Regions from separate parts of the Homo sapiens genome. Here regions 2, 3 and 4 are each linked to region 1. Evidence: promoter capture Hi-C in 16 types of primary human blood cells and fetal thymus (Javierre and others, 2016). All regions are on one chromosome and are shown on one strand. The core of a region is centred on a gene start or on the middle of the fragment in contact, and the rest is flanking DNA. Distances in the headings are between cores, read along the strand shown. Region 1 holds the start of PRDM13 (PR/SET domain 13). Region 2 overlaps USP45 (ubiquitin specific peptidase 45). Region 3 has its middle 120 kb from the start of PRDM13. Region 4 overlaps USP45 (ubiquitin specific peptidase 45).

What was found. The method cuts DNA at HindIII sites, captures the fragments that hold promoters and counts their contacts. A CHiCAGO score of 5 or more calls a contact.
Region 2: a fragment that was not itself captured here is called in contact with the fragment with the promoter of PRDM13 in region 1 in 1 of 17 cell types (total B cells); the score reaches 5.6 in total B cells.
Region 3: a fragment that was not itself captured here is called in contact with the fragment with the promoter of PRDM13 in region 1 in 1 of 17 cell types (erythroblasts); the score reaches 5.1 in erythroblasts.
Region 4: a contact is called between a fragment that was not itself captured here and the fragment with the promoter of PRDM13 in region 1, in 4 of 17 cell types (monocytes, activated CD4 T cells, total B cells and 1 more). The highest score is 8.0, in monocytes.

Annotation. Positions count from the first base shown.
Region 1 is chr6:99,605,583-99,612,691 of GRCh38, forward strand. It overlaps PRDM13 (PR/SET domain 13), which reads left to right and starts at 1,251. Exons shown (of 4, transcript NM_021620.4): 1 at 1,251-1,596; 2 at 3,159-3,290; 3 at 3,605-3,725. The coding sequence starts at 1,453. The HindIII fragment of the contact is 6,161 bases long and covers 1-2,642 here.
Region 2 is chr6:99,480,735-99,487,843 of GRCh38, forward strand. It overlaps USP45 (ubiquitin specific peptidase 45), which reads right to left. Exons shown (of 18, transcript NM_001346022.3): 8 at 2,019-2,149. Among named protein-coding and RNA genes, the nearest start is that of USP45, 31 kb to the right of the region's middle. RefSeq lists a silencer at 4,451-4,590. The HindIII fragment of the contact is 2,606 bases long and covers 2,643-5,248 here.
Region 3 is chr6:99,720,509-99,727,617 of GRCh38, forward strand. No RefSeq gene overlaps it. Among named protein-coding and RNA genes, the nearest start is that of PRDM13, 120 kb to the left of the region's middle. The HindIII fragment of the contact is 794 bases long and covers 3,073-3,866 here.
Region 4 is chr6:99,507,871-99,514,979 of GRCh38, forward strand. It overlaps USP45 (ubiquitin specific peptidase 45), which reads right to left. Exons shown (of 18, transcript NM_001346022.3): 2 at 2,251-2,360; 3 at 740-912. The coding sequence starts at 2,350. Among named protein-coding and RNA genes, the nearest start is that of USP45, 4.0 kb to the right of the region's middle. RefSeq lists an enhancer at 6,561-7,109. The HindIII fragment of the contact is 2,311 bases long and covers 4,444-6,754 here.

The DNA of each region.
Region 1 (7,109 bases), core at 1-2,500:
ACCACTCAGGCCTCTCTTGGAAGAACTGCATCGGGCTCCGGTGCTGGCTGCATAGGATTTGGGGAGCTGTGCTCAGAACTAGCAGCACGCGGCAGGTGCCGGCAGAAATCACAAATATCTGATGAACTTGATTACTTGGCTACTATTTATGAAAATAAATGTTCTCACGCCAATTGGAGGCTTCCCTAAAAGAAAACGGGTAGCTCTCCGGTTTAACTCTGAAGTACAACGTCTTGTTAGTTCACAAAGTAGGTGTAAGAAAGAGTTGTCCCAAACGCCCACCTCGCCCCTCTTCTCTACAACCTTTAACAGATTGCGGTGATTTTCGTTTTTGTTTACTGTTTTTTTTTTAATAGAAAAGTCCAGGTTGCTGGTTTTAGGGAAGTTAGTCCAAGGACATCTTCTAGGGGACGTGATCAATAACCCACTGGTAGAACTTCTTCCTCTTCAACCCTGGGCTGCGGACCGGGGCGCAGGATCCCCATTCGAAACTGTTGGTTCTGGGGCTGTTTCCCATTCTCCAGAGAAAGTGCAGGCCCGGGGTGTGCCCGAGAAAAGTGATGAGCAGTTGACCTCCCCTTCTCAACTTGGTCTGGAGGCTTCATCATATTTTCGGACGAAATGGGACAGAAGTGAGAATTAAAGCGGTTCTGAATAGACGACTGGCCTGAACCCAATCCCCTGAAATGGTAATATGGTTGTTATTTAAAAAGTGTAGGTATTTTCTGGTGTTTTCCCATCAAGTACCTGCCTAATTTCTGTATGGCACACGCCAGAAATCAATAGTAGTTAACAAGTCCTCCAAACAGTCTCCATCTCTTTGTTTAATCTCCTTTACAATAAAGCCAAGGGGAGAGAATTAAAAATCTTTGAAGTAGATCAAGGCTCAAAGGAATCAGCCAAGTAGACTTAAAGTAGTCACTTATTTCCCAAAACTGGTTTGTCGGGGAACAATAAAAGGAAGTAAAATTTATGGAGAAATTATACAGTGGATTTGTCACTTAAAATATCGTAACTGTCTGGAGGACAATACCCCATGCTGAGGATTAATGGTCCCGCCGGACCTTTGATTCACCAGTGCCTTTTCTTCGCCCTTGACAAATTGGATTTTTAGGAATGGGAAGGTCGCCTGGACCATTGTGTGCTAGCCATTCAGCGGCCTCGATTATGCAGGGGGCTGAGGGAACCACTCCATGTGACCCTCTCGGGTGGGACTCTGCAGCTGCTTCGCAGCGCAACTCTCTCACCAAACTCCGCGCCCTTGCGCTAGCGGTGCCAAAAGGCTCCCGCCCCGATTGAAAAGGCGCAGTGCATGCCCGCCCGCGTCACTCCGCGGGCGGAGGACGCACGTCGGGGCGCGGCTCTCTGGCTAGCGCGCAGCTCCAGCTCTGTCACTCGCGCCCTTCCAAGGACCTGGAGCACCCGAGCGCCTGCCTGGTGGCGGCGGCAACAATGCACGGAGCCGCCAGAGCGCCAGCCACCAGCGTGAGTGCCGACTGCTGCATCCCGGCCGGCTTGCGCCTCGGACCGGTGCCTGGTACCTTCAAGCTGGGCAAGTACCTGTCAGACCGCAGGGAGCCCGGGCCTAAGAAAAAGGTATTGACCATTCAGACCTCTGCCCACTGCCATTCGCCTCTCAGTGCCCTGACCCGGGAAAGGGGTACGAGAGAAAGTGGAGGAAGGGAGTGATTGAGTCGTTACCTGCTAATTCTGCCGGGTGGAAGGGGACTCCTATTATTCTGAGCAAGTAGCCTCTTTAACTGTGAGAGCTGGACGGGGTCGGGCTGAGAGGAGAGGATGTGGCCGAGAGGCGACAGCCCTGGGTGGGGTGCACTGAGCGCTGTAGGTGCCGGGACCATTCGCAGCTTGTGTTTTCCCCTGCGCTCTCGGGTCTCCTCAGTCAGAAGCCAGAAGCCCACCCCCGCACGCTGTCCGCAGCTCTCTCTGCAAAAGCACCCTCTTTCTGGGGGCTCAGGGCATCGAGACCCTTTCTTCCCTTCTGCCCTTCAATATGTTAATTTGAGGCCTAATTTCGCCTTAAAGTAATTTTTTTTCCTGAAAAAAAAAATCTTTGGGAGGCTCTCAGTTCCTAGAACCTCCTCAGATATTTTTTTTTCCCTTGCCGATGTCGGCTTGTGGGTATGCGGCATATGGAGAGAGGATGAGCAAGGTACTGGCTCTGACGCGGGCTCCAAGGGCGAGGCGCGCCCATTCGCGCGGGGCACAGGGTCAGAGCGTCTGCAGCGGGGCTCTGAGAGTCCAGAGGCCCAACCGGGAGGCGCCAGGGCCAAACCACTAGCTTTGACTCCCACACTCCACACACCGTCGCGACCCCTGACCAGAGAGACTTATAGCACTCGCCCGCTTTGGGGGCGTCCCAGGAGCCAAAGGTCGGCAAACAGCGACCGGGAAATGAAGGCAGAAGTCTGGGGTAGAAGAAAGGACTTTGGCTTCCTTGGCTTTAGCTTGCCTTGCTTGGAGCTTTCTAGTAAAAAGCTCCGGTGTCCAGCCAGCGGGACTTGCACCTCGCTCCTCCTGCAATCACGCCCCCCACTACAGTCTAAAGCGGGGTTTGGTGCCCACCGCGCATTCCTCTTTAAACGCGTTTTAATTGCTTTTAAATGGCCTGCCAGCTGCGGGCAAGCTTTTCCCCGCTTGGGCTTTGTTCCGAGACTTTAGCTGCAGGGCTCACAGGCAACTAGGTGCGATGCACACAGAATACAGGAGGCATGAGATAATTTTTTTGTTTGTTTGTCGGGGGTACGCTCTGGGCCCTGGGACTGACCTAGAAATGTCTCTACCGTGGTGTTACGGCTGCTCTCAGAACTGCAAATGGGAGAGCTGGGGTAGGGGACAACTTGGTACAAGATGTGCCTAAGCACTCAGGGAGGATGCTCTCAACACCCCTCTCCCCTCCCCGTGTCGTCAAGGTGGGGCGCAGGGAAGTGGGAGTACTGTTAGCATAGGTAGACTTTCCTCTTTCTCCCTCCCCGAAGCAAGGTCCTAAGGAATTCTCCTCCTCCCAGTAGCCCATAGTGGTCTGGCCAAACCAAAAACAACCACTTTCCTGTGTTGGGTTGGGGTGGAGGATAAACTTTCTGTTTGGGTTGTGGGCCTGGCCAAGGTGCGGGGGAGAACGACCACTGCTTGTGTTGCAGGTGCGCATGGTGAGAGGGGAGCTGGTGGACGAGTCGGGGGGCTCCCCTCTGGAGTGGATAGGGTTAATCCGGGCAGCCAGAAACTCCCAGGAACAGACTCTGGAAGCTATTGCAGACTTACCCGGAGGACAGGTACTGCGGGCTTCTCTCCACACCCCCCCACTCCCCACCGCCAATTCAGTCTACCTAACCGTCCCTGCGGTGGCCAAAAATATTAAGAGCAAAGTACTTTAGCTAGACGTCTCATTTAAACGTCTCGACAACCCTTTAAGGTAGTTACTATTGTTTTTCCGTTTGAAGGATGACGGAAGTGAGGTTCAGAGAGCTCCAGTAGCTTCTCCAGGGTCACACAGCATCAGAATCCGGATTTGAACCTTTCTTCTCAGTTGCTTTTTGACCGATTACCCAGGAAATGACATTGAACTGTTCTATTCCTTGCGTCCCAGATCTTCTACCGAGCATTGCGAGACGTCCAGCCAGGGGAGGAGCTGACAGTGTGGTATTCTAACTCCTTGGCTCAGTGGTTCGACATCCCCACCACAGCGACTCCGACTCACGACGAGAAAGGTACCCATTCCAAAAGCGTGGATGGGCAAAAGTCCAGCCCTCCTCCTCCTGTCTTGAAGCGAGTCCCTAGACATAGCTCGATCTATGTAAAATGGAATTCACATTCCCTGTATTTCAAGGCAAAGAGGAGAGAGGTCGCCACTACCTCCTTAAAATCAACCATAAACGATAACAGTGATAGTAGCAATCTGGCTCACAATGGCAGGGGAAAAAGTAGGCTCTATGAACTTAATGGGGCCATCCTTTTTCTGTTGCATATTCAAACAGACCATTATTTACTCAATTAAAATAAAAAAAATTAGGCGCGGTAGCTCACACCTGTAATCCCAGCACTTTGGGAGGCCGAGGTAGGAGGATCACTTGAGGCTAGGAGTTCGAGACCAGCCTGGGCAACATAGTGAGACCTCTGTCTCTACAACAAAAAAATAATTAGCCAGGTGCGGCGGTACATGCCTGTAGTCTTAGCTACTCAGGATGCTGAGGCAAGAGGATCACTTGAGCCCAGGAGGTCAAGGTTCCAGTGAGCCGTAATGTTACCACTGCATGCCAGCCTGGGTGACAAGTGAGACCCTGTCTCAAAATAAATAAATAAAAATAAAAAATAAAAAAGGAGCCTTAAGTTGTTGTTACAGTAATTACATCATGAGTTCCACAGAGTATAACTCAAACCTGGAATGCTTTTACAAAGTCCATGGACATTTCTTCTCCACTGGCTTTCCAGGAGAGCAGTGCATTTCTACAGCATTTTAGAAGTATTACGGTACTTACAGCTGGTCAGTTGGCAGGTACTGAGACCCTTCCATTTAAGTGGCATTTATTCATTTCCCCTTGCCTACTTAAGTTGAATCTGGGATGTATCCCAGTTTCTTCTCAGATTTATTTGATCCCTTCAAAGCCAAGAGCGGATTTATGCAAATTAAGGTGCAGTAACTAAACAGAAAAACATTTTTAAACCTACCCTTGAACACTGAAGAACACTTCCTGTGGAAAGAAGTCTAGGAGGTGCTAGAATAGTTGAGGTTTTGGAGACTTCCTTTTCACACACAAAGCTTCCATGGCTTTTTTTCTTTGACAATTGTCTGTAATTTCTCCTAAAGACACATTTAACATCAAAATAATGAATGCTGTGAAATATTCTAACATGCTGTCTTCCTGAATTGCCTGCTCAATCTCATCCCTTTAGAAATAGGTTTAGAGAAATCAATACAAGTATGTGAATTAGGAAACACTTCATGAATAACACAGAATGAAGTTTATTCAAAACAATGAATCACTTTAAAGTATCATCGTCCTCTGTAAGTTAATTCTGTTTATTTTGTAGGTATAGTATTCAAATTATCCTAAAATAGTTTGTTCCTTGCATCACATTATATTACATTCTCTTGTCAACTTCTTCCAGTAAAAAGAGAAGTATAATAAAAGCCACATAGTGGAGAACTCTCAAATCTGCCACTATAGAATTTGGCGGGCCACTAACCTTTAGAAGCCAGCCATTTCTACAGAGAACACCCTTTCTTAGGTAGTCCCAAATAGTACAAAAGCAACTGGAATAGCGGTCCTTGTGTTTTCCTTTCAGCCAATTGAGCTTATAAACATCATATGGTAACAGATGTCAAAATAAACATTTTTTTTTTCTGGAGGTGAGAAGGCATGGGTGATTTTGAACCCTGACTTCCCCAGCTTGGAGAAGTTTGAACTCTTGACCACCTTAGAGTTACATGAAGAGGAGGCAGTCACTTGTTAAATGTATTTGATACTCTTGGCATGATTTGGATCTCAGAGTCTGGAGAATATGTCAGTTAGGATAACTGAAAAAAAGTATATATTAAACGTATGCTGCTTAAAGCTTGGAAAGAGGAAGAAATAAATAGGGATGGCTGCTATCCTCCTAATACTAGCTAACTTCAGTGGGTTTCAATTTCATAGTAAGATGGAGGAAAATACTGCCCCCTCATTTTAAGAAAAAAGCTTATGTGGCTTTGCATTGAGCTGAGTCATTCTGCGGCAGACTCTGAAAACTCCCTCTTTCAAAAGGGGTGATGAGAGAGAGAAAGGCTCTGAAGTTAGAAGGAAGTTATTTAAGACAACATACCCACCAAGAGAACCCAGGAGGTCTATTCTCTCTTTTTTTCACGATTCATTTTACATGAATGTTCAGTACAAGGTAACAGAATATTGAAATGGTTTTATCTAAGACTTCTATAAACGATTAGGGTAGGGTGTCATAGGCAAATACTCTTCTCCCATTTTTCTTTCTGCTCTCCTTGGACTCAGTTGGAATGCAGTGCTTATCACTTGAGTTTTCACAGGTCTTATGGGGTAGGGGTGGGAGCTACTTGTGTTATGCAAACCCAGAAGTTAATATACATAAAGGGAAGAAGATCTGGAATTCTTCCCTATTGTTATTTCTGTAGTAATATTTCAGAAGTTTGAGCTGCTCATATATGCAGAGGGAGAATTTAACTTTCCTGTTAAATTTTATGAGACTGATGTATATTTTGGATATTTCCTTGCGGTTCAACTAACTTCTTTCTCAGACATCTTTCCCTTCAGTATTATCAATCAACCACATTTTAAAAGAAACCCAACTGCAAGATCATTTCTCTCTACAGCAGTAATATGACCCTTTTAAGTGGAAATTAACTTCTAGTATGTGATCAGAATGTCTCATATATGTGTCTCTTGATTGTGTTCACAAACTCGGGCAAAATGAATAAACTAATGCTAATAATACTAAACACATAAAAAGATTTCACACCAAACACGTATATAGTGCCCGGTAGAGAATTCTGCACTTATTAAAAGCTGAGTATCTATATTTATTTATCGATCTATATCATTTATATATATTCATATAATAAAAAACTAATATATTTTCTCCAAAGACTTTACTAAGCTTGGATTTGTGCAGCTATCTAGGAGTTAATTAATTACCAAGTGGCAGACAAGACAAGACAATGCAACATCATCCTTCTTAGATTATCATCACCCTTTTTAGAGTATCAGGGCATAAGAATTTTTTCTTTTCTCCCAGCAAATTAAATGGTGTTAAAGAGGAAATAAAGATACAAATAATTTTGAAGAATGGCAAATCATAGTCCCTATGTGGTCCTTCAGTTGGTCACGCTCCAGGAAAACCTCAGGCAAAGTGTTTAAGGCTGGAAGGGGGTGGAATGGGTGGGTAGGGGACACAAAAGACATTGTCCTGTGAAAAGGAATGATTACATATGGCCTATACATACAGGATATTGTCTCGCCTGGTAATGAGGCGCTCACGACCATTAGATTGGTCTTTGTTCAGCTTATCCAAACTCCTTGACATACGCCACCTATTCTGCAAACGCCAACAGATGGGCCCAGGCACTGCACAGCCTCAACACTTGA
Region 2 (7,109 bases), core at 2,696-5,195, 120 kb before region 1:
TGCAAGACTTACTATGAAGCTACAGTAATCAAGACAGTGTAGGCTTTGGGGTAAAGACAAGACATGTAGATCAATGAAACAGAATATAGTTCAGAAATAAACCCAAACACATGTGGCTTAAATCTTTACTTGATTTTAAAAAAATATATTTGTCTAATGTATACTTCTTTTAAAAGTAAACGCCATAAAACAAACAAAAAAAAGGCAATTTAAAACTTTTCAGCCAAGCATGGATGACGCTCATGCCTGTAATCCCAGCTACTTGGGAGGTTGAGCAGGGAGGCATGCTTGAGCCCAGGAATTCGACTATGATTGGGCCACTGCACTTGAGCCTGGGCACAGAGCGAGACCCTGTCTCCTAAAAAATACAAAAAATACATAAAAATCTTCAAATAATGTTTGATCTAGTTATTCTAAGAATTTATCCTACAGATGTACTTCCGCAAGTACAGTGTATTCATACAAAACTGAGTAAGTTATACACACATGTGCTAACATGGAAAGATGTATAAAATATATCAAGCAAGTTGCAAAAAATTTGCATATGTCTGTGTATGTATGATCACTTTTGGAAAGAATCAGATAATAGTTACTTCTGAGGAGTAAAGATAGAGAGGAGTTTGAATTTTTATCTATGAGTGCCCATTATTTTAATAGTAATTTTTAAAATGTTAATAAACCTTTATAACCAGGAAGAAAACTATACAAAACAAGTTATTTCTGGCAAAGTCAGAAACAAATTTCTAAAGCATACAATGACCTAGTAACTTTTTTTGTTTTAATTTCAACTTTTATTTTAGATTCAAGGGGTACATGTGCAGGTTTGTTATCTGGGTATATTGTGTGATGCAAAGGTCCGGAGTACGAATGATCCCGTCACTCAGGTACTAAGCATAGTACCGAATAGTTAGTTTTTCAACCCTTCCTCCCTCAATCTCTCCCACCTCTAGTAATCCCCACTCTCTACTGTTGCCATCTTTATGTCCATGAGTACCCAATGTTTAGCTTCCACTTATGAGAACATGTGGTATCTGGTTTTCTGTTCCTGCATTAATTCACTTAGAATAATGGCCTCCAGCTGCATCCATGTTGTCGCAAAGAATATGATTTCATTCTTTATTATGGCTGTGCTAAAAACTTTTTAACTCTGTGAGACACTCATGCCTCTGAGAATTTTGCAGGTTTTTTTGGTCCTCAGGCTTTGAAGAAACATCATTTGCCAACCAAATGAAACATACACTAAGCCCTCTATTTTGGACTATATTTAAAATATCATGGCATTCATTACTAGTTTTAATTAAAATGAGATTTTAAAGTCTATAGATATACAAAAACACAAGCTCATATTCAAATAATTTTCCTTCTACATATTTTAGTAATTGTGGACTGGACTAGCTTGTGAGTTCCATGAGGACAGGGTGCATTTGTGACGCAATATATGTTGTGTACCCCTGAATTGTAGCAAGTACCTCATAAAAAGCAAGCTCTCAATTTTTTATATAAATGAATACATGAATGCATTAAAGTCAAGTCAGATCCTTTATGTGTTTATTTCCAGGCACATAAGGATTTGGTTTTTAAACATACTGTAATACCTTGAGAAATTCACTTAAACTCTATTTGCCTCACAGCTCATCTTTTAAAATAAGAAAGCTAGATTAGATGTTATCTTACGGTACTTTCTAGATTTTACAACTCTATGGTTTTCTCACTTTATGGTATTACAACATAGGCATCCAAGTCAGGACAGATCTCCATTTGATTCTCAGCTTTTCACTCAGACTAGGTGAGCCATTTAATTTCTGTGTCTCCATTTCCTTATATATGAGGATAAGCTGCTTCTTCTGAGGACTGAGATATAATTTTCATAAAGCATAGAGCTGTAACAAATTTTAGTTCTCTTCATAGTCAGGGCAATAAGAGCAAAGTTACAGTAAAAACGACTATTCATGTTAAATGATGAATACATTAGTATTTTGTAACTCATAATTATTTATATTAAATGTAGATGCACCCACTTCTGACAAAGCTGATTAAAAAGAACTTTAGGAGAAAGTGGTCCTTTTTCAGTCTCCTTCATGCTGTGAAGAAACAGGAACAAGGCTGAGGTCAGTGGTCCAGGCCTTGAAAGTTCCACCACCAATGGGTCCTTTAAAAACATGATCAACTCTATGTCAGAAATGTACAATTTAAAAATAACATATTAAAAATCTGTGAGTTACACTCTGCTTAAATAACACCAACTAAATTGCCTCAATTGTATTAAGAAACTTTATTATTTCATAAATAAAATATATAAAAATGGAAAACAGAATACCTGCCTTGAAAAACACAGGTATTTTCATATCCTCTGCCCTTTGCTTAATAAAACTATTAGATCAAATGATATCACCAATCTTTAGTTGCTTGTCACTGTCCTTTAATGCACTCTCCTATAAATAAAATCACTAATCTACTTAATGTTTGTACCACTCCACGAATAATCATACATTATTTGCTAGTAAATAATGTATGATTATTTGTGTATAATGTAGGATTATACACCTTTCTTTTCCCCAAATATTTTACTAGTAAAGTAATAATGTGGAATCATGTAACAAAATCAGCATAACATCTCCCTCTTTTAAAGGGGAGAGACATAAAGCTTGACAAAAGCAGCTAACATTGGGTGAAGGATTAACCCATTTAATTCTAGAATTTTTTTCCCCTCGAAATCTGGTTTCTAAAGTACTATCCCCACCAATAACACTTTCTCCTAAAGGACAAGGAATAGAAAGCAGATCCCAAATATAAACTTGGGACATTAAAGAATGTTATCTTCCGGCCGGGCGCGGTGGCTCACGCCTGTAATCCCAGCACTTTGGGAGGCCGAGGCGGGTGGATCATGAGGTCAGGAGATCGAGACCATCCTGGCTAACAAGGTGAAACCCTGTCTCTACTAAAAATACAAAAAATTAGCCAGGCGCGGTGGCGGGCGCCTGTAGTCCCAGCTACTCGGGAGGCTGAGGCAGGAGAATGGCGTGAACCCGGGAAGTGGAGCTTGCAGTGAGCCGAGATTGCGCCACTGCAGTCCGCAGTCCGGCCTGGGCGACAGAGCGAGACTCCGTCTCAAAAAAAAAAAAAAAAAAAGAATGTTATCTTCCAAGATAACTATTGAATATATTGTCCTATTCCTATATTCATGAAATAACTGTTACATATGTATTTTATAACAACTATCCTTAAAAATCCACTATAATCACAGAAAGGACAGGCTATAATTTTCCATAGTTTTTTTTTTTTTTTTTTTTTAAAGAGACAGGGTTGCCCAGGCTGGTCTTGAACTCCTAAGGCTCAAGCAATCCTCCCGCCTCAGCCTCCCAAGTAGCTGGGATCGCAGGCATGAGCCACCACACCCAGTCAAAATTACAGAGGACTCAAGACAGACTTTTGTGTTTTTTCTTTTTTTTTTTTTAGACGAAGTCTCACTCTGTCACCCAGGCTGGAGTGCAGTGGTGCGGTCAGCTCACTGTAACTTCAAACTCTTGGACCCAAGTGATCCTCCTGCTTCCACCTCCTGAGCAGCTGGGACTACAGATGAATGCCAGCATATCCAGTTGATTTTTAAAATTTTTGTAGAGACGGGGGTAGAGGGGGGGTCTCACTTTGTTGCCCAGGCTGGTCTTAAACTCCTGGCTTCAAGTGATCCTCCCACTCCGGCCTCCCAAAGTGCTAGGGGATTACAGGAATGAGCCATGGTGCTCGGCCTTCCATAGCTTTTGAATGTCAAAAGTGCTTTTCTGGGCTGGATGCCATGACTCACATCTGTAACCTCCACACTTTGGGAGGCCAAGGTGGAAGGATCACTTGAGCCCAGAGTGGAAGGCCCGCTTGGGCAACATAGGGAGACTCCGTCTCTGCAAAAAAAATTTAAAAATTAGCCAAGTGTAGTGGCACGTGCCTGCAGTCCGAGCTACTCAGGAGGCTGAAGTGGGAGGATCCCTTAAGCCCAGGCTGCAATGAGCCATGATGGCACCACTGCACCCCAGTGTGAGTGACAGAATGAGACTGTCTCCAAAAAAAAAAAAAAAAGTGTTTTCTCTTCTGCTGTAAACTTAAAACTGCTCTAAAAAATAAAGTCTATTTTTTTTTAAAGTGTTTTCTGCCATGTTAACTGAAAGTTACCTCAAGGGTCAAAAGTAAAATCTAAGGTAATTTTAAACTTCAAGTACCAAGTTGCACTTCCCTTTTCTCAATGAAAATATTTTTTAGACAGAATAAAAAACCTTCAGAATGAGATGAGGAAATAACCTTAGTTTTAAAAAGTACATTTAGACCTGGCGCAGTGGCTCACGCCTGTAATCCTAGCATTTTGGGAGGCCGAGGCAGGTGGATCACTTGAGGTCAGGAGTTTGAGACCAGCCTGGCTAACATGGCAAAACCCTGTCTCCACTAAAAATACAAAAAAAAAAAAAAAAAAAATTAGCTGGGTGTGGTGGCACGCATCTACAGTCCCAGCTATTCAGGAAGCTGAGGCAAGAGAACTGCTTGAACCTACGAGGCAGAGGTTGCAGTGAGCCGAGATCGTGCCACTGCATTCCAGACTGGGTGACAGAGCAAGACTCCATCTCAAAAAATAAATAAAATAAAAATAAAAAATACACTTAAACTTTGAAAACAAAAGTTTGCTGAAAACGCAAGAAGGATGAATTTCACACATAATGTTGACAGAAAGAAGCCAAATGCAAAATAATGTATATAGTAAGATTCCATTTATATGCAGTATTAAAACAGGCAAAACTAATCTATCCTGTTAGAAACCAGGTTAGTGGTTACTCATGTGGGTTAGGGAAGTAGTGAATGTGGGGGGGAGTTGAAGGGGCCTTCCAGATGCTGGTAATGTTACTTGAGCAAGGTGTTAGTTACACAAGTGTGTTAGCTGTGAAAATTCATCAAGTTATACACTCATAATATACATTTTAAAGAATATTTTCATTAAATAAAAAGTTTTCCACACACACTGTTGATATGCGCATAAATATTAAATTGAATCCAGCAGCATATAAGCATATCATAACTGGGGTTTGTAACAAGAATACAGGATAGGTTTAACACTTGAAAAAGGAATCAGTGTAATTCACCACATTAACAGAATAAAGAAGAAAAACCATATGATCATCTCAATAGATGTGGGAAAAGCATTTGACAAAATTCAACATCCATTCCGATAAAACTTTCAGAAAACTAGCAATAGAAAGGAATGTCCTCAAGCTTACAAAGAACACCTCTGAAAATCGTACCTTCGTATGTAATAATGGGAGAAGGCTGAATGTTTGTTCCCCTAATTTTGGGATTAAGGCAAGGCTGACTGCTCCCATCATCTCTATTCAACATGTTACTGGAGCTCTGAGCCAGCACAATAAGGTAAAAAAATAAAAATAAAAAAATAAACGGTATATAGACAAAAGACAAAGATAAACTGGTGATTCAAAGGGCAGTAACCAACTCAAAGAACAGTGCCACAGCTCAGGTCAACTTTATGCCCTAAAAACCTAAGATATAAGATTCAAAATTACCCTGTTAGAATGATACAAACCTAAAGTTATTAACTACAGTATCTAATTGCCATATAGTAATCCTGAAACACAGCTCTGCATGTCAAATATTTAAACTCAACATCCAATCGCATTTAACAGGAAATCACATTTAACAGGTCTTTTTAAATGACTAGGCAATAACTTCCCTTTAGTAGTTTTAAGGATCTCACTACACTTTATTTAGAATAGGGCATTGGAATCTATCATTAAATTTTTAAGGGGCTGAACAAATGTTTACAGGCTGCTTTTCGACTATATATACATATATATATGGTAAACATTTACATGTAAATATATATATAAAAAGGAGGTTATTATATATATATAACAGTATGTTATATATATAATAATACTGTCTTTCAAAGATATATATATAAAACAATACTGTCTTTCAAAAGTGCCTACTGGGAAAAACAATCTAAGATTACTAAGCATGTTTAGAGGGCTAAGCATTTTTAGAACTCTTTAATTGTTTTCAAAAGTCAGATCATGAGCTATACATATACTCTGACTTACACACTTACACACACACACAAACACACACACACAGGCTGATCAATTTCTCACTAAAATTATCCTTACTAGTATCAACACCTCCCAGCCAAAGTCCATCAGAAACACACCTATCGTTGAACTAGGTGGGTTTATTACTTGTGGCAGTGAGGGAGATCACGCAGCATGGGGAACCACAGGGTGTCCTAGTAAGAGAGTGCTGTAAAGAACCTACCCAGGATTTAGGCTCTGGTTGAATAACCTGAAGGTGGGTTTCAGGAAGCAGAGGTTTACTCTAGAGTGAATGCCCTCAGAAAGCGAGGCTAATTCTATCATGGGACATCTCAATAAATCTTACATATTGTGGCAGTTGGTGGGGGAGACTAAAATGAGGATAAATCTCTAACTAGTAAAGTAGCATTCCTTCATTTCTCATTTTGGCTGAAGGAGGGTGTTTCAGATTTTCTAAATGGCAAAGTGATCTTGTTTTAGACAAAATCATGAAGTGGACTTGCTTTGTCTTATTTCATCGTAGTCTCAGAGAAACCTACTATCAGATTGTTATTCTGTGGGATTATCTGAATAACATGGCCTAACTGTTGGTGCCAGGCCAGCTTCTGAATATCAGGGGCTGCTCTTTTTTTCATCTTTCTCACTAGCTTAAAAATCTATCATCAGGCTAGGCTTCAAAAAACCTTTAGATGTGGCCGGGCGTGGTGGCTCACGCCTGTAATCCCAGCACTTTGGGAGGCCGAGGCGGGTGGATCACGAGGTCAGGAGATCAAGACCATCCTGGCTAACATGGTGAAACCCCGTCTCTACTAAAAATACAAAAAAAAAAAAAAAAAAAAAAAGTTAGCCGGGCGCCTATAGTCCCAGCTACTCAGGAGGCTGAGGTAGGAGAATGGCATAAACCCGGGAGGCGGAGCTTGCAGTGAGCTGAGATCGCGCCACTGCACTCCAGCCTGCACTCCAGCGACAGAGCGAGACCCCGTCTCAAAAAAAAAACCTTTAGATGCTCACTATTAAAATTTCATCTTT
Region 3 (7,109 bases), core at 2,220-4,719, 120 kb after region 1:
GTATGTCTTCTTTTGAAAAGTATCTGTTCATGTTCTTTGCCCACTTTTTAAAGAGGTTGTTTGTTTTTTTCTTGTAAACTTGTTGAAGTTCCTTAAAGATGATGGACATTAGATTTTTGTCAGATGCATAGTTTGCAAATCTTTTCCCATTCTGTAAGTTGTCTGTTTACTCTGTTGATAGTTTCTTTTGCTGTGCAGAAACTGTTTAGTTTAATTAGATTCCGTTTGTCAATTTTTGTTTTTGTTGCAATTGCATTTGGTGTCTTTATCGTGAAGTGTTTGCCAATTCTTATGTCCAGAATGGTATTTCCTAGGTTGTCTTCCAGGGCTTTTATCATTTGGGTTTTACATTTAAGTGTTTAATCTATCTTGAGTTGATTTTTGTATATAGTGTAAGGAAGGGTTCTGGTTTCAATTTTCTGCATATGGCTAGCCAATTATCCCAGCACCATTTATTAAACAGTGAGTCCTTTTCACATTGCTTGTTTTTGTCAGCTTTGTCGAAGATCAGATGCTTGTAGGTGTGTGGTGTTATTTCTGGGATCTCCATTCTTTTTGTACTATCTAGGTCTTGAAAAGTTGTTGTAGTTGTTATTTTTGGTTAATTGTTTAGCCTTTCAACCTAGGATAAGAGTAGTTTACACACTATAGGTACAGTGTTATAATGTTCTGTGTTTTTCTGTGTACTTAGTATTACCAGTGAGTTTTGTACCTTCAGGTGACTACTTATTGCTCATTAACATCATTTTCTTTCTGATTAAAGTACTTTCTTTAGCATTTCTTGCAGGACTGGTCTGGTGTTGATGAAATCTCTCAGCTTTTGTTTGTCTGGAAAAGTTTTTATTTCTCCTTCATGTTTGAAGAATATTTTTGCTAAGTATGTTGTTCTAGGGTGTTATGGTTTGGCCCTGTGTCCCCACCCACATCTCATCTCAAATTGTAATCCCCATGTGTTGAGGGAGGGACCTGGTAGAAGGTGATTTGTTCATGGGGGTGGTTTCTCCCATGCTGTTCTCATGATAGTGAATGAGTTCTCATGAGATCTGATGGTTTTATAAGTGTTTGGAAGTTCTTCCTTTACTCTTCTTTCCCCTGCTGCCTTGTGAATAAAATGCTTGCTTCCCCTTTGCCTCCTGCCATGACTATAAGTTTCCTGAGGTTTCCCCCACCATGTGGAACTGTGAGTCAATTAAACCTCTTTCCTTTAAAAATCAGATATTTCTCAGATATTTCTTTATAGCAGCATGCGAACAGACTAATACAATTAATTGGTACCAAGAGTTTGGGGTACTACTATAAAGATACCTGAAAATGTGGAAGTGACTTTGGAAATGAGTAACAGGTAGAGGTTGGAACAGTTTGCATGGCTCAGAAGAAGACAGAAAGATGTGGGAAAGTTTCGAACTTCCTAGAGACTTGTTGAATGGTTTTGACCAAAATGCTGATAGTGATATGGACAATGAAGTCCAGGATGAGGTGGTCTCAGATGGAGATGAGGAACATATGTTTAAAAGGGATGCAGAGCATAAGATTTGGAAAATTTGCAGCCTGACAATGCAATAGAAAAGGAAAACACATTTTCTGGGTAGAAGTTCAAGCTGGCTGCAGAAATTTGCATGAGTAATGAGGAGATGAATGTTAATCCCCAAGACATAGGGAAAATGTTTCCAGGGCATGTCAGAGATCTTGGCAGCAGCCCCTCCCATCAGAGGCCCAGAGGCCTAGGAGGAAAAAATGGTTTTGTGGGCTGAGCCCAGGACCCTGCTCCTGTGTGTATCCTTGGGATTTGGTTCCCTGTGTCCCAGCCACTCCAGCTCCAGCCATGGCTAAAAGGGGCCAAGGTACAGCTTGGGCCATTGCTTTAGAGGATGCAAGCCCAAAGCCTTGGTGGCTTCCACATGGTGTTGGGCCTGCAGGTGCACAGAAGTCAAGTATTGAGGTCTGGGAATCTCCACTTAGATTTCAGAGGATGTATGGAAATGCCTGGATGTCTAGGCAGAAGTCTGTTGCAGGGGCAGAGCCCTCATGGAGAACCTCTTCTAGGGCAGTGCAGAAGGGAAGTCTGGGGTTGAAGCCCCCACACAGAGTCTCCACTGGGGCACTGCCTAGTGAAGCTGTGAGGCCACCACCCTCCAGATGCTAAAATGGTAGACCCACCAACAATTTGCACTGTACATCTGGAAAAACTGCAAGCACTCAACATCAGCCCATGAAGGAGCTGCCCAAGGCTGTGGGAGCCCACCCCTTGCATCAGCATGCCCTGGATATGAGACATGGATTCAAAGAATATCATTTTGGAGCTTTAAGATTTAATGACTGCCCCCTGGATTTTGGACTTGCATGGGGGCCTGTGCCCCTTTGCAAGAAATTGTTTTGGACAATTTCTCCCATTTGGAATGGGAGCACTTATCCAATGCCTGTACCTCCATTGTGTCTTGGAGATAACTAACTTGCTTTTGATTTTACAGACTCCTAGGTGGAAGGGAATTGCCTTGTCTCAGATGAGACTTTGGACTTGGACTTCTGGGTTAATGCTGGAATGAGTTTACATTTTGGGGGACTGTTAGGAAGGCATGACTGTGTTTTGAGATATGAGGACACAAAATTTGTGAGGGACCAGGGATGGAATTATATGGTTTGGCTCTGTGTTCCCACCCAAATCTCATCTCAAAGTGTAATCCGCAGGTATTGAGGGAGGGAACTGGTGGAAGGTAACTGAATCATGGGAGTGGTAGCCTCCATGTTTTTCTTATGATAGTGAATAAGTTCCCATGTGATATGATAGCTTGATAAGTGTTTGGAAGTTCCTACTTTGCTTTTCTCTCTCCTGCTGCCTTGTGAAGAAAGTGCTTGCTTCCCCTTCACCTCCTGCCATGATTGTAAGTTTCCTGACGCCTCCCCTGCCATGTGCAACTGTGAGGCAATTAAACTTCTTTCTTTTATAAATTACCCAGTCTTGGGTATTTCTTAACAGCAGCATGAAAATGGACTAATACATAGGATTAAGGTTTTGTTCCTTCAATATTTTAAATGTTTCATTCCACTCTCTCCTGGCCTGTTAGGTTTCTGAAAAGCTTGCTGCTATATGTATTGGAGGTCCATTATATGTTATTTGTCTCTTTTCTCTTGCTGCTTTTAGGATCCTTTATCCTTGATCTTTTGGAGTTTGGTTATTAAATGCCTTAATGTAGTTTTCTTTGGATTAAATCTGCTTGGTGTTCTATAACTTTCTTGTATTTAGATATTGATATCTTTCTCTAGGTTGGGGAAATTCTCTCTTACTATCCCTTTAAATAAACTTTCTACCCCTATCTCTTTCTCTACCTCCTCTTTAATGCTAGTAACTCTTAGATTTGCCATTTTCAGACTATTTTCTGAGTCCTGTAGACATGATTCATTGTTTTTTATTCTTTTTTATTTTATCTCCTCTGGCTGTGTATTTTCAACCTATCTTCAAGTTCACTAATTCTTTCTTCTGCTTGATCAGTTCTGCTATTAAAAGACTCTGATGCATTATTCAATATGCCAATTGCGTTTTTCAGCTCAGAATTTCTGGCTAATTCTTTTTGATTATTTTAATCTTTTAGTTAAATTTATCTGATAGACTTCTGAATTCCTTCTCTGTGTCCTCTTAAATTTCTGTGTTTCCTCAAAACAGCTATTTTGAGTTCTCTTTCTGAAAGGCTACATATCTCTGTCTCTCCAGGATTGGTCCCTGGTAACTTATTTAGTTCATCTAGTGAGGTCATACTTTTCTGGATTGTTTTAATACTTGTAGATGTTATTCAGTGTCTGGGCATTGAGGAGTTAGATATTTATTGTAGTCTTCATAGTCTGGGCTTCTTTGTACTCATCCTTCTTGGGAAAGCTTTCCAGATATTCAGAATAACTTGGCTGTTGTGTAAGCTGTATCTGCATTAGGGAGCACCCAGAACCCAGTAACACTGTGGTTCTTGCAGACTCGTAGAGGTACTGCCTTGATGGTCTTGGGCAAGATCTGACAAAATTCTCTGGATTACCAGGCAGAAACTTTTTATTTTCCGTTACTATCTCTCATACAAACAGAATCTGTCTCTGTTCTGAGCCACTTGAACCTGGGGGTGTAGTGACACAAGCATATCTGTGGCCACCACCTATGACTGCACTGGGTCTGACCTGAAGCCACTGCAGCACTGGGTCTTGCCCAAGGCCTGCTGTAACTACTCCTTTGCTACTGCCTATGTTCACTCAAGCTGTGGGGCTCTAAAATCATCAGGTAGTAAAGCCAGCCAGGCCTGTGTCCTTTCCTCCAGGGTAGTGAGTTCCCCAAGACCCCAGGCAAGTCTAGAAGTGTCATCCTGGAGCCAGGGACTACAGTCAAAAACCTTAGAAGCCTACCTAGTGTTCTATTGTACTACAATTGAGCTGGTACTCAAACCAGAAGATGTAATCCTTCCCACCCTTTCCTCCCCTTTCCAAAGGCAGAGGAGCCTCACTGTATGGGCACCACCACCAAAGGCCACAGGGAGTACCAGCAGACTGCTGCCAATGTTCCCTTAAGGACCGAGGGCTGTTAGGTCAGCTTGTGGTGAATACTCCCTGGCCTGGTACTCACATTTTGGGGCAGGGGGCTCCCCTCTGGCCCATGGCAGGTCCAGAAATGCTGTTCAAGAGCGAAATCCTAGAATCTGGGATGCCAAGAGACTGCTTGGTGCTCTAACTCCCATGGCTGGGCTGATACCTAAGATCCAAGACAAAGTCCCCCTTACTTTTCCCTCTGCTTTTCTGAAGCAAAAGGAGTTTTGGCCCGTGGACACTCAGCTCATAATATGCTGTGTCTCACCTGAAGCCAGCAAGTCTCAGAGGCTCACCTCAGCCCCTCAATGTAGTACCTGGGTATTGCTGCTGTTTATTTAGGGTCTGAGGGCTCTTTGGTTAGCAGGTGATAAATGTTGCCAGCACTGGGTCCTTCCCTTCAAGGAGCAGATTCCCTTCTAGCCCAAGGTGTGTCTAGAAATGTCTGGGAGGTAGGGCCTGGAAATGAGGCCTCGTGACTCTGCCCCATGCCCTATTCTCCTGTGGCTGAGCTGGTATCCAAGATGTGGCCCATTCTTGCCTCTCCTTTCCTCAGGTGTGAAGGAAGAGGTATCTTTTGGAGTTAGGAGATTTGCAGCCTAGGGTTAGCGGAGGGGTGGTGCCAGCACTCCCTTAGCTGCCCCAGCTGGTGTCTCAGTAGGTCATGTGCCCCACCAGTCCACTGTCTCTGGGCCTGGTTAAGCCCTAGGATTCACCTAGGTGTTGTAGTCCTTGTGGCCTAGATTGCCTTTCAAATTTATTTAGAGCCCCAGGGCACTTTAGCCTGTGGTGGCAAGGCTTGCAGGTGGTGATGCTTGTGGGAATTCAAGTTCCAACCACTGGGATCAATGAATGCACCCTGGGTAGAGCTGGTTTAAATAGTCTCTCCTTGGGGGGGCATCAGTTGAGTTTGGTCTGGTGTTCCTTTCTGCTATAACAGGACAACACTGAGTTCAGTGTCTCACAACTGCCAGCTCTCCCTCCCCCAGCAAACAGAACTGCTCTCCACCCCACGCCACTGCTCAGGGAGGGATGGCATTGGTGATTCAAGCCTGTTTTTTTCTATCTCTTCAGTGTCTCTTTCACAAAGTTAAAACTAGGTACTGTGAGTGCTCACCTGATTTTTGTTTCTTATGAAAGTGTTTTGTTGTGTAGATAGCTGTTAGATTGGTGTCCTTGCAGTGGGGGACACAATTGGTGGAGTCTTCCATTCCACCATCTTGTTCCTAATTCTTTTTTTTAATGACTAGTATTTAGTTATAAATTAAATAATACCTGAATAAGAATGAAAACACCCAAAGTTGCATAATAGTCAAATCCTCAAGGTAGCTATTGGTTTTAGCTAAATGATAAATGATGAGGTAACTAGGACTTCAGCAACAGTATTCGCTATTGATCTTGCTCATTTGACATAAACCCCCACGCTCTCACACCATTCAGTTTCACTGGGAAAATGATGTAGATATTTCATGCATTGTTATTCTTGAAAAATAGAAACAGAATTGATGCTACTATTGCCTTTAAGCTTTTAGGGATTTGAAAACTGTTGACTGGGAAGCACAGTTGTAGTTGGTACATATTTTACTTATGTGTAAGGTAGACTTGCTGTACAGGCTGCTGTAAGATGAAAATCTGGGTACAGGCGTGGAGATTTTTCCCATTTTCCAATTCCCTTTTTACCTTCCTCGTTTTCAATCAGCTTACATCTTCCACAGCAGTAAGGAGGAGACTGGTGAAGCAGGGCCAGTTGTAGTCAGTCTTTTCCTTTCTGCAGTCTAGAAGGCCCAGGCGGCATCCCTGCTGCCCAGGTGTCTGCTGGCCTGGCTTCATCAAGCAGCCCTTTTTTCTGCACATGCTCTCCTAATGGCCTCTTTCTGCTTTCCTGAGTGACAATCAAACTGATTCTGAAGAATATGCTTATAGTCATAAATGTGAACAATAGCGAGCAAAGATCCCTCCTTTCTGAGTACAACAGGTTTCTGAGGACAATATTTTATTTTTTTTTAAATGGACACATTATAATTGTACATATTTATGGAGTACAGTTTGATGTTTTGATACATGTATATGTAGTATAACGATAAAATCAGGGTAGTTAGCATATTCATCATCTCATGCATTTATCAACTCTTTATGCTGAAAACATTCAGAAGCTTATCCTCTAGCTATTTTGTCATATACAATACCTTACTGTTAACCGTAGTTCCTCTACTGTGCAATAGAACCCAGAACTAATTCCTCCTATTTAATGTAACTTTGCACCTATTGATCCACCTCTCGCCATCCTCTTTTCCCCCCACATCTTCACAGTCTCTGATAATCACTATTCTACTCTCTACTTCTATGATTTCAACATTGTTTTATTATGTTCCACATAATAATGAGATCATGCAGTATTTGTCTTTCTGTATCTGGCTTATTTCACTTAATATGGTGTCTTCCAGTTTCATTCATGTAGTCAAAATGACGGGATTTCATTATTTTTTATGGCTGAATAGTATACCATTATATATATAATATTATGTGGAATTATATATATATATAATGGTATACAA
Region 4 (7,109 bases), core at 4,349-6,848, 93 kb before region 1:
GCCTACTGAGAACTACTGAGACACAGACCAATCATAGCGATTTCCCTCACTAGGTAAGTAAAGAAATGAGATGCAATTCTGGTTAATGCAACATGAGGGGAAGTCAAATCCGCTGAATCTTTCCAGAAGGCTTTTTTTTTGTTTGTTTTTTAAGAGGAACACAACCATGAGGTTGAGGATGGCACAGCAGAAAACAGAATAAACCTCAGTTTTTAATGTTCTTTCCATTAAATTAACTAATCCTGAAGTGGCCTTACTTCTGGACATTTTGTGTGAAATAATAAAGATTTCTCTTATTTTTTTAAAAAAGTATATACTTTTAATTTCATTAAAAAAATTCCTTTATTACAGATATCAATAACTTTTAAACTTTAAGATTTTAAATTACTTTGCAAAAGCAGCAGAATAATCTGTTTTGAGAGAGAAAAAAATTAATCTGAAAGGTAGATCCATTTCCTAAGTAAATACAAAAGGTAAAGACTGGTCCAGATATGGGAACTACTGCAAATAGGTTGAATTACCTCTGCAAGTATTTATAAACCACACCTGATTACTTTCTGAACATAGCATACCTTTTACTTTACCTTAACAATCATTTTTAAGTTCATTCCTGGAAAATTTCTATCTAAATTGGAATAAATTTATCTTAACTCCTATGCATGACCAACAGTCCAACTCACAATAAGCATTTAAGGAAAACATTTCAGACAAACTCACATATAAATAATACTTTTCTTACCTGGAAGCCACACTTGAGGCACAACCAAATATCAGAAGTAAGTACTAGCTGCCCATCATAGAATCTTCTTTCTTTTAAACATTCTGAGCAAACTGACCACAGATTCTCAGCTATTGCTCTCTTTACATGATTCACGCTGATAGCATGACTTACATGTTGGCAAGTTAAACCTACTGAATAAGATAAAACAAAATCTCAACATTTTCTTTGCTACACCAAAGTGCTACCATTACTGAGCAAACCTCAAAAGTATTAAATGCTGTTAACTAAAAAGCACAGAGATTGAACACACAAAATAACTCAAAAGATATATGCTATATAATTCCATTTATATAATGTTCATGAAATAACATAATTATAGAATGAGAAGAGATTCATGGTTGTAGGGAGCAATGGACGCAAGGCAGAGGGTGTTGCTATAAATGGACAGCACATAGAGTGGTGATGACACAGTCAAGTATCTTGATTGGTGGTGGTTATACAAAGCTATACATGTACTAAAATGGGATGATGTTTCGATAGCCAGTTTGCTGCACTGAAGGATGTCTGAATTATCTCTTTAAATATCATTAGGACCTTATCTGATGTCCCTAATTTATTAGAGTTTAAATTTTTGAACTAATTTTAGATTCACAGGAAGGTATAAAGAAATATACAAGGAGGTCTCATTCACCCTTCACTGAGCCTCCCCTGATGTTAATGTTTTGCACTGCTATAGTAAAATATCAAAACCAGGAAGCTGACGTTGGTACAATCCTTAGAACTTATTCGGATTTCAGAAGACATAGGCACTCATATGTGAGTGTGTTTGTGTATAGCTGTATGCAACTATGCATACCTAAAATGGAAAAAATATATTAAAAATATCCCTTTAAATGGAGAGAACTAGCAAGAAAGTGAGGAAAATCCTCAGAGGCCCAAATCAAAAGCATGAGGCTAAAGAGAAAACCAAGCCCTGAGGCCAGCAGCTCCCAAAAGCCATCTGCCAAGCTCTGGTGGCTTGGTGACATGGTTTTAATAGGCCATGAGAAAGAGACCAAAAAAAAAAAAAAAGCCAATCTAAGTTACTTCATGTTATAAACTAAACAAAATCCTAATAAAAATGCCAACAGGATTTTTTGGAACTAGAAAAGGTGATTCTAATATTTATGCAGAAAACAGTAAAAATAAAGAGTAACAGATTTCTTAATTAAAAACATATACAGTCTTCCCTCAGATACTTGAGGCAGGGAGGTGGGGTGGGGTAGTTGGTTCTAGGACCTCCCCACATATACCCAAATCTGTGCATACTCAAGTCCCGCAGTGGGCCCCGTGGAATCTGCATTTAGAAGTCAGCCTGCCAAGTATGCAGTTTTCACGCATCCCAAGAATAGTGTATTTTCCATCTAGGTTTGGTGGAAAAAAATTTGTGTACAAGTTGATCCTCAGCGTTCAAACCCATGTTGTTGAAGGGTCAACTGCATTGTTATTTCTTCTCAACACTATTTGGGATGCCATATATCACAATTTACCAGCAATATCATCTGAAGAGTCTTCATCATGAGGTACAGTAGGCCTTTTACTTCTTTTGGCTTTCTCAGGTAAAGCTTTAGTTGGATCTTTCACCCGCATCTGTTATTTACTGAAGGGATTGAGGGAAAAAAATTCATACATTTTAGTCTTCAAAATTAAAATTTTATATTTTATTTAATGTGTATTAAAACTGAAATGACTTCAATTTCAACTGGTCCGGGAAATCAACAGAGGAAGAAGAGGGGAACATCACTTGAAATGAAATAAATCTTTGTTAAATCAGTATACACATGGTATATTCCATTGGCTTTTGCCAACTATACCATTATGGACTAAATGTTTGTGTCCCCACTCCAAATTGATATGTTGAACTCTAATCCCCAAAGTGATGATACTTGGAGGTGAAGCCTTTGAGAGGTAATTAGGTCATGTAGGTGGAGCCCTCATGAATGAGACTGGCCTCTTATAATAAGAGGCTAGAAAGCTACCTTTGTATCCACATGAGGATATACGAGAAGATGGCCATCTATAAACCAGGAAGAAGGCCCTCACCAGATACTAGATTTGCCAGCATCTTGACCCTGTACTTCCCAGCTCCCAGTATTGTGAGAAATAAGTCTGTGTTGTTTAAACCACCCAGTCTATAATAATTTGCTATACCAGGCTGAACCAAGACACAACCCCTAAATATATGATGTCCAGGTGAATGACCAAAACTAAAGTTTTCATCAACGGAGTAAGTATTGCTTCTGGATAATGAGTTCTCTTTACCCTTTCCTCCCTTCTGCTAGCAAGGAAATAGTAGGAGCTGGATGAGCCATACTGGATCAAAAATGGATAGCTGTAAGCCAAGCATAGTAAAGCCACTCTATACCTGTGTTGTACAACTAGCACTGGAATATTAAGAGAAAATTAAATTTCTATCTTTTTAAGCTACTACATTTTTGGGGGTTTTTCACTCTAGCTTTTTATCATGAAAAATTTTAAACATCTACAAAAGTTAAAAGAACAGTATAATGAACACTCATATACTAATTAGATTCCACATTTATATTATTATTACTATTATTATTATTATTATTATTTTGAGATGGATCTCGGCTCACTGCAACCTCCACGTCCTGGGTTCAAGCAATTCTCCTGCCTCAGCCTCCCAAGTAGCTGGGATTACAGGCGTGTGCCACCAGGCTTGGCTAATTTTTTTTGCATTTTTAGTAGAGATAGGGTTTCACTGTGTTAGTCAGAATGGTCTCGATCTCCTGACCTCGTGATCCGCCCACCTCAGTCTCCCAAAGTGCTGGGATTACAGGCGTGAGCCACCGTGCCCGGCTATTATTATTTTTTGAGACAAAGTCTCACTCTGATGGCCCAGGCTGGAGTGCAGTGGCCTGATTTCAGCTCACTGCAGCCTCAACCTCCCCAGGCTCAGGTGATACGCCCACCTCAGCCTCCCAAGTAGCTAGGACTACAGGTGCACACCACAATGCCCAGATAATTTTTTTGTATTTCTTAGTAGAGATGGGATTTCCCCATGTTGCCCAGGCTGGTCTCGAACTCCTGGGCTCAAGCAATCCACATGCCTTGGCTTCCCAAACTGCTGGGATTACAGGTATGAGCCATGGTGCCCCACCAATTCCACACCTATTAACAATTAGCTATGTTTGTTTTTATCTAAATATCAATATGTGTGTATAGAGAGACACATATATGTATGTGAGTGTGTGTATATATATATATATATATATATATATATATATATATATATACACATAGTTGAACTATTTGAAAGTTGTAGAGATCTTGACAGTTCATCCCTAAATACTTCAGCATGTATCTCTTAAAAATAAGCACATTCTCCTATATAACAATGTAATCATATCTAAGAAAATTAATAATTTTCTAATATCATCTCATATTCCATCATATTCTAATTTCCTTAGTTGACCCTAAATTGTCTTCTATAGCTGGTTTTTTGAAAAAGATTCAATCAAGGTTTGCACTTGATATTGGTTATGTCTCTTTAGTATCTTTTAATCTATTAACAGAACAGTTCTTCCAACCTGTTACTTGCCTAAGACTTTAGCTTTTTAAAGAGATCAGGCCAGTGCATGAGTCACCTTGAGGGTCTTGTTAAAATGAAAGTTCTGATGCAACAAGTCTGGCACAAGACCTGAGATTCTACCTACCTAAAAAGCTTCTAACTGAAGCCACTGCTGGGGGCCCATAGAATACTCTTTCGACAGCAAAGTTATATAATGTCTCACACTGAATTTGTCTCTTTCTTCATAGTGTTATTTACCTCTATCCCTTATATTTATTAAAAATTCAGTTAATTATCAAAGATTTTAGATACAAGCTAAGCATTTTTTAAAACTACTATATTTTGGAGTCTCTGTTAGAGTAGCTTGGCCTACCTTTTACTCTCCTGCCTGGTGGCTAAGCAACATCGCAATTTTCATGGTTGCTGACTTACTTCTCAATGATCAAGGTAATGAATCTTTCAATTCAGTACTAAATTCCAAATCTTGATTTATTCATTCCATAATTCACAATAAGGGAGCTTTCAAGTTTACCATTAAGTCCAACGGTCATCACTACTGAACTAAGTTGCAATAAATTAAGGGCTTCCGGGTTAGGAACATGTAAAAAGCCTCTGAGTTCCTTGAGCACTTCATCTCTACCTTCTCCCTCCAAACTTCCTCATCTACTCTCCCCTACAGTTCCACCTTATAAAATCACTAATTTAAGTATCCCCTTCTCTGACAGCAACTTCCCAGTTCTTCCAACTTGCCTGATCAGCCACTCATATTTTCCTATAGTGTCCAGGCTGACAAGAGGCTGCATCTCAACAAGTCCTTCCATGACCCTTACAGCAGGGCAGGGAGAAGTGGAAATGGCAAATGGAGAGCTGCTTCCTAAAGCAAGTCACATGGCACATTTAACTTCAAGCAGACATGGAGAGGGGTTGCCCATGTACAAAGAGTGCAGCATTACATGTACCCAAAAATAGGTGAACCGGAATACTTGTGCAGAGCCTTAAGGACTACATCACCTCTCTCGCAGAACCCAATCCTAGATGAACCCAATTAACCATTTTCTCCATGTCGGGAGAAAGTCTCTTAAGAAAGCAGACTAGGTCCATTATTATTCACTTCACCTTCTGGTCAACTTACATACTATCCACAGAGCCATTTCAAATCTTCTTCACTTTCCTCAAACCTCTAACCCCTCCAACTCCCAACTAACTTACCAAAAACTGATCTAGTCTTTTATAAGGGAAAAGAGACATAAGCAGACGGCAAATTTGATCTTTCTAACCCCAAATTTGCAAACCTACCTCCATCAATTTAAATTTGATGTCCTGAAAAGAGATAGGTATAACTAATAAAGTACAGGGAAAATGGCCTATGAGAAACTGATTATATTTTCTCGCTGTGGTACAGATAAGCTCTTGATAAAGATGAGCATTAACACAGATAATGCTAGCAAAATAATAAACAAAACCAGGCATTTGACCTACATACTGTAAGCAACCTGTGCCTTTTTTCAAAAACACTGACTCAAAATTAACTTGGTAATGTAGAGGCAATTTCTGATGATTTTTCTGCCATATGTAATGTCTAAACAGACAGAATCATTTGGTACAGTAACCCAGAATTCGGCAATTATTTATCTGTAGTTTTCCAATTTCCATTTGAGGCAAAAGGGCAAAATTAAAAGTCCAATTATTAGAGCTTCCAATACTTTTTATCATCAAAATTGTGTCTGGGCACTGGAGACTGGGAAGGATGGGAGTGGGGTGAGGAATGAGAAATTGCTTAATGGACACAATGTACATTATTCAGGTGATGGTTACACTAAAAGCCCAGTACCACTAGGAAATATATCCTCGTAAAAAAACGGCACTTATATCCCTTACCTTTATACAAATTTACAAAACTGTGGCTGAGGATCTCCGTGATCTCCCCCACATTTAGAGCTTTGATAGGATGCACGGGACTCAACATATAGTTGAATTCATGGCTGACATTTATTACACAATGCAGTATGGATATAAAGGCTCATCATAATAGAAAAAGACACAAGCGGAGTCTGGAGGAATCACGTGTAGGCTCCTTATGCGGTCTCCCTCCCAAGAGGGGTCAAACAAAACACATCCTTCCTCCATCAGTGAAAATGCAGCAGTTTCCGCGCAGGGAAGCCCATTAAAGACTTGGTGTCCCGGATTTTTACAGAAGCTGGTAATTTCGGCATAAAACATACTGTTCAGCACAAACCCAAAAATCTAAGTTCCCAGATGCCAAACAAGCACCAACATTGCAAGCAGTCCTTTCTAAGGATAGCAGTCTTAAGGCCTGCTATGTTAACTCTTTTTAGCACAAATATGTTCTGGCCATTTTTCTCATGCGGTTTTCCAAACAATAAACTTTACAGTTTTCAAGTCACCATCACTTAACACTTGTCTTTTCTCTAAAGTAGGATGTGCAACTAAGTTGTTTAGAAAGCTTTGTTTTTAAACAGGCTATGCAAAAAGCCCATATCCTTAAGAAAAAAAAATCCTTTTTTCCTACTCTTGGGCAATTATTTATGGGGGTTGGAAAGAGAAGAAAAGGTCACTATCTCCTTTTATATACCAAGCTCAAAAAGATGAGCAGCACTTATGGTTTTGCTGTGTATCACGCTCAGTTCTAAGCACTTCACAAATATTAACCCACGCAACCCTCACAACCACCTTAGGAGATAAGTTGCTATTATTTTCCGCATTTTACACTTGAAACTGAGAAAGAGAAGTGAAGTGACTTGCAGAGGTCCCAAAGCCAGTAAGCGGTGGATGGAGATGCGGACCCAAGCAGTCCGG